2 separate regions of the Homo sapiens genome follow, and region 2 is linked to region 1. The links are contacts of gene promoters, found by promoter capture Hi-C in blood cells and fetal thymus (Javierre and others, 2016). All regions are on one chromosome and are shown on one strand. The core of a region is centred on a gene start or on the middle of the fragment in contact, and the rest is flanking DNA. Distances in the headings are between cores, read along the strand shown. Region 1 holds the start of MIPEP (mitochondrial intermediate peptidase). Region 2 overlaps SPATA13 (spermatogenesis associated 13).

Region 1 (2,884 bases), core at 209-2,708:
CTTCCACTTCCCAGTACAACCTGCCCATATTGCTCTCGGGAATTCTAACTATCGGATTACCAGTGACCATAATGCTAAAAAACTGAATAAGGCTTTTTTTTTTTCAAGGCAAAAATCAATTCTAAAATTTGAAAATCTGCTATCAGTGCCGAATATCATGATACAAAAAGGGAAAAATAAAAGCTAAAATTAGTTATATCTCATCCACCCAAAATCAGGCTTCCCCTCACGTCTTTCTGCTCAGCGCCTACAAGTAGGTCTCTTCACACCAACTATGTTAATACCAACACTACATACCCTTAAGGAAGGTGGTGTAGCAAATTTCACACAAAATAATTTTTAAATAGACAAAACTGATAATGGAGATAAAACAAGAATCACACACTTTAGCTCAGTGCAACAATACCCTAGACTTGTCTTTATAAGGCAATACAGTATAACGAAATTTTAAAAGGCAAAAATAAAAGTAATCCTTAACCTAAAACGGACAAAATGTACAAACTCCAAGTAGAACAGGCATCAGGTAAGTCCTTTCCAACCTTGCCTTCCTCTCACCTTTCACTAGACAACGCAGGCTAGTGACTTCCTGGGGTAAGAAATCAAAGTGACCAATTCCATGGCACTATGGGAAGTGAGACTCGTCTCAACAGAGTTTTGTGTTTTAAAACAAGAAAGCCCAAAGCTTTGAAATAAATTAATTAATAGATGATGGAATTTCAGGTATTAATGAAATTACCATTACTCGACTGCAGGCAGCCGTGTCCTTGCAAAAAGACCATGTGATGCCGCCTGTGAACGCACAGGGATAGGCCTCTTAAGGCAGGACTGTAGCGCTGGAGCTAAAGGGCTTTAGCAGGGGTGCGCCTGAGTGTATGCAGAGGGCGGGTCCTGGCAGGACGAATTCACCGCCACTGCCAGAACGAACTATTCAGATTCACGTGGAGCAAGGGGCTCATGCAGAAGCAGTTCCCGGACCCGACACTCTGGGTAGGAGACCACTAAACCCGGCCCCTCAAAGCAGAGGTGACCTTGCCCTCATCGAGAGCGCACACAAGACGCCACTGTAAAAGGTGGGTTCGCTGCTCGCCTCCTCCCAGGCCCAAACAATCTCGCCCTGATTGTTGCTGGCCGCGCGGAGCAGGGGTCGGCTTAGCTCGGGGACTGAGGGGAGCTCCTCCTGCGCCGCTCACCCGGCGCTCGCCGAACAGGTCCAAGCGGCTGCCCTGGGGCTTGACATTGAAGGCGGCGCCCACGGGAGACCAGCTGGTGCTGACCCTTCGGGCCCGGATCCCGGCTTCGAGGCTTCCCCGGCCCGCCCGGCGGGGCGGCAGAGCTGCTGCTCTGGCTCCCAAGCCGCCCAGCCTTCCGACGCACAGCATTCTAGCACCAGAGCAGTCCCTTCCTCCAACGCAGATCCCTGCCCTGCTGCTTTCGCTGGGAGCGCGCGCTCCGCGTTTCCAAGGCAGCAGCCCACGCCGCCCCACGTGACGGCCCCGCTTCCGGGTCTGGGCGCGGCCTCAGGACGTGGGCACGTTGTCGTCCAGAGAGCAAGAGCGTCGCTCCCCCTCGCCTTCTCGGCCGCCCTCCCGGTTTACCGCCCCCTGTGTCCAGAGTAAGAAAAGGCTAGGGTTGCGCTTCCCTCCCAAGTTGACTAGGGGTGGGCGCGAGTAAAATCATGACATATTCGAATTCCAGTGGACATTAGATATTCTTTGAGAGACGGCAGGTACTTGAGTAAACAAGAAATGCCCACCATAGGCCTGAAGGAGAAGTTTCCCTTTTAACCTACTCTCTTGGTAAATTTATCCTGCACTTCTCTGTTTGGTGTCTCTGTCCGGTAACTTTTTACTCTTGCATAGCTCAGTTAAAAATTTTAGATGGGAAATAGTGAAAGAAGTCTAATGGGATTTTCCCTCCAGGGTTTCAGAATTGCCTGGGACCCGTGAACCCTTTTTTCCTTCCCCTTTCTCTCTTTTGGAATGGATTGTCTACCCTATGCCTGTCTCCCCCTCCAACCCCCGGTCTTTTAGAAGTGGATTAACTCGTCTCGCTTCACAGGATCACAGATGGAGAGACATTTTGCCACACGATGAATCACACAGTAAGTCTCCTCTGTAGCTTATTTAAATGATGTAGATGGTGAGAGGAGTTGATGCGGAAAGTGTTAAGACTTTTGGTAATGTTGACATGGTGCGAAAATGTATTTTGCACATGAGAAGGAAATCAATTTTGGGAACCAGAGGGCAGATTGGGTTGAACTGTGTCTCCCAAAATAGATGCTGAAGTCCTAACCCTCGGTGCCTGTACATGTGACCTTATTTGAAAATATGGAGTTTGCAATTATGATTAAGATGGGTCATACTAGATTAGGGAAGCTGTTCTTGTAAGAAGAGGAAAATTTGGCTGATACAGGAGGAGGACAGCCACCTGAAGATGGAGGCGGGGACTGGAGTGATGCTGCCACCAGCTGCCAGAAGCTGGAAGCAGCAAGGCTGCATCCTCCTGTATCCCCTTTGGAGGGAGGATGGCCCTGCTGCTACGGTGATCTCAAACTTCCAGCCTACAGAACTGTGAGAAAGTCCGTTTCTGTTGTTTAAAGACTCCCAGTTTGTGTACTTTATTAGGGCGATCCTAGAAAACAAGTAGAGATTCATGTCTGGCAAATAATGATCAAACAATGATTTGTTGGATAGAATGGTGATTAAAACCTAGGTTAGAAAATGAGCAAAATGGGAGGGAAAGCACCAGGACAAATAGCTAATGCATGCAGGGCTTAATACCTGCATAGGTGATGGGTTGACAGATGCAGCAAACCACCACAGCACATTTTTATGTAACAAACCTGCACGTTCTGCATATGTATTCCAGAACTTAAAAATACATT
Region 2 (2,845 bases), core at 70-2,569, 330 kb after region 1:
CATCTCCGCTTTCCTTTTTGAGATTCAACATATTTAAGTATTAGTGATTCTTTAGTTTTCCTAGCAACTAAACTCAGCTGGTTTTGAACTTCTCGCAAAAGTCAGAATATAGTACTTGCTTTCATTTCAGTCCCCACTGAGCATCTGACATATTTAAAACATTATTAAGCTGTGTCAAAGGAGCCATGTCCCTGGGATATTATACCAGAGTATTCCTGAATTCTGTGTGTTGGTTATGTTCGAGCACAGCGTCTCCCTGAGGACGCGCTGGCAATGAGAACCTCCACCTCTAACAAAGTCTCACAGATCGCCTCTGAGAGATGGGGTGTGTGCTCCAGGGACCCCTGTTCAGGAGGAGTAGCTGGTCACCTCTGGCTTGGTTCATTGGTGGCATCATGTCACATGACTGTCGTGCATGTCCTAAATGAGGAGATGTGTGCCAAGAGGCAGGGAGGGCTTGCAAGAAAACAATATGCAAATCTCAGTTCAATTAGAAGACAGTTTAAATTAGAAGCAGAAGGCATTTCAGCAACTGCTTTAATGTGTAAAACTAATTTGAGAGGATGAGACACTTGATTGCACAGCACAGGGAAAGGGCCTCTTCTGGGCCTCTGTCCTCAACAGTGGCAAAATGGTCTGTGGGGACATCCCCTACCTTAAGACCTGATAGGCTGCTGGGTGGAAGCTGAGTTGAAAATTAATCTCATTTCCTCAGAATGCAAAGCTATAAATTGGGGCTCTGCCTGGAAACACATTTTATGCAAAGACAAAAAAATTGAACACTAAAATAAATGCAGCAAAAATAAAATGCAACACACATATATGCTCTTACACACAGTTATTAAGTATGTCTAATTAAGCTGTGGATGTAAAAGCTACATCATTCCCTTTAGGGGTATTCTGTGCTGACTGCACTGTTGGGTGACTTAGCCTGTGAACTCAGTGAACACAGCTCCAGATTTGGGCCAGTCTGCCTCTGCCAAGCAGAGACATTGTTTTTGCTCCAGTGACCATCACAGTGCCTTCAGGATTAGGGCCATCCATCTGGAAAATTTTCATTGCCCTGAATGGTAAATGTGGGGGAGGTGCAGTCTTGTGGTGACATCAGTTTTGGCATGGGTTGCAGGCATGAGGTAGTCCTAACCGGGAACTTCATTGTTACTGCTGCAATCTTGTTTACCACCAGAAAGGTGGTGGACAGGCCATGGCTGTAGGAAGTCAAGACGCAGGGCAGTCTTCAGGGCTGAGGGCTGTGACTGGCAACAGCTCCCCTGGAGCCTTCCAAGGTTGCTGTGAGATTGGAGGAAGAGGAGCTCAGAGGCTGTCACTGTGCAGAGGTTGGGGACGCAGGCAGGGAGGGGCATTATGGAGGATGCCAGCATCTTTCGCACAAGCTCAGACCTACCTGCCCTTTCATCTCTCACTACACCAGCCTGACCTGCAACTTTAGACACAGAAGGAAGATTTTCCTTTGTGGTCTAAGACCTGCCTTTGCAAATCCTTGTTTTCTGCACCCCATCACCCCAGAGGATTGACAAAGCAAATATGAATCCCTATTGGGGAAACACCATTCTCACCCACAGGAATGTGTTTTAGCCCAGTAACCCCCATAAGGCAAGCCAAGACAATCACACGCTTGTATGAAATTGACACCTTTCCAAAAGATACGCTTATTCTAGTTGCATTTGTCCATATACTTTCAATTCACAAACATTGAACTTCAGTGATTGAATACTTAAGTGACGCCAGAGCTACAGATGCTCTTTTGAAGCATCTTACCTACTCCTTACACAGAGAGACCCTGAAGGTACCAGATCAAAGGGTAAGGGGGCTTCTTTCTTTTACTAAGGTATGTATATTGGGGCTAGGAAGAGGAAGGACGGTGTCTGGCATTAGGCCTGGGGAATAACTTCATCTCTGAAATTAGGACCTTGGATGCTTTCTCTTTATGAATGTTGTAAATTATGGCTGGGCATGGTGGCTCATGCCTGTAATCCCAATACTTTGGGAGGCCAAGGTGGGAGGACGATTTGAGGTCAGGAGTTTGAGACCAACCTGGCCAACATAGTGAAACCCTGTCTCTACTAAAAATACAAAAATTAGTGGGGCATAGTGGCATGTGCCTGCAATCTCAGATACTTGGGAGGCTGAGGTGGGAGGATCACTTGAGTGTGGGAGGCGAGGTTGCAGTGTGCTGAAATTGTGCCACTGTGTACTCCAGCCTGGATGACAGAGCAAGACTCTGTCTCAAAACAAAACAAACAAACAAAAACAAAAACAAAAAAAAGGAAATGATAAATTTCAGTGGTTTTAACTGGCCATGGTATGTACCTGTTATCCCAGCTACTTGGAGGATGAGGTGAGAGGATCACTTGAGTCTAAGAATTTGAGGCCACCCCGGGCAACATAGCAAGATTGAGTCTCTTAAAACTTTTTTCCAGTAATTTCAGAAAAACTATTCTGAAACTAATTGGTAGCACATTCATGGTTTTCAGCACTCTCTCTCTTTTTATTACAATTCTTCTTCCTAATAGCATCAGTGGCCACAGTTGCTGCTAGACATCCTACAAAGCACAGGTCTGCTCCCACAACAAAGAACCATCTGGCCCAGATGTTGGGGTATCAGACCTGAGATGTGCAAAGCCAGCAGCCCCTTCAGCCAGTCATTCAACAGACACATGCTGAGAACACAGTGAAATAAGACAAGGCTTCTGCCTATAGAGAACTTTCCATGCTCCTCAGAGAGGTTAGTGGAGAAGGCAGACAAGGAAAGCAGAATGACCGGGCAGTGTGGGAAACATTAGAGAACTGTTTCTAGGTATTTCAAACAGAGAATCTAATACAG

Evidence for each region. Contacts are between HindIII fragments. The CHiCAGO score rates a contact against its expected background, and 5 or more counts as called.
Region 2: a contact is called between a fragment that was not itself captured here and the fragment with the promoter of MIPEP in region 1, in 9 of 17 cell types (total CD8 T cells, naive CD8 T cells, naive CD4 T cells and 6 more). The highest score is 12.6, in total CD8 T cells.

Annotation. Positions count from the first base shown.
Region 1 is chr13:23,887,942-23,890,825 of GRCh38, forward strand. MIPEP (mitochondrial intermediate peptidase) reads right to left here and starts at 1,459. Exons shown (of 19, transcript NM_005932.4): 1 at 1,191-1,459. The coding sequence starts at 1,379. It overlaps PCOTH (prostate and testis expressed opposite C1QTNF9B and MIPEP), which reads left to right and starts at 927. Exons shown (of 4, transcript NR_172510.1): 1 at 927-1,070; 2 at 2,059-2,101. RefSeq lists enhancers at 1,239-1,739, 1,799-1,858. The HindIII fragment of the contact is 13,692 bases long and covers 681-2,884 here.
Region 2 is chr13:24,214,803-24,217,647 of GRCh38, forward strand. The region is part of intron 1 of SPATA13 (spermatogenesis associated 13); the gene reads left to right. Among named protein-coding and RNA genes, the nearest start is that of SPATA13-AS1, 38 kb to the right of the region's middle. RefSeq lists an enhancer at 2,744-2,845. The HindIII fragment of the contact is 4,973 bases long and covers 1-2,845 here.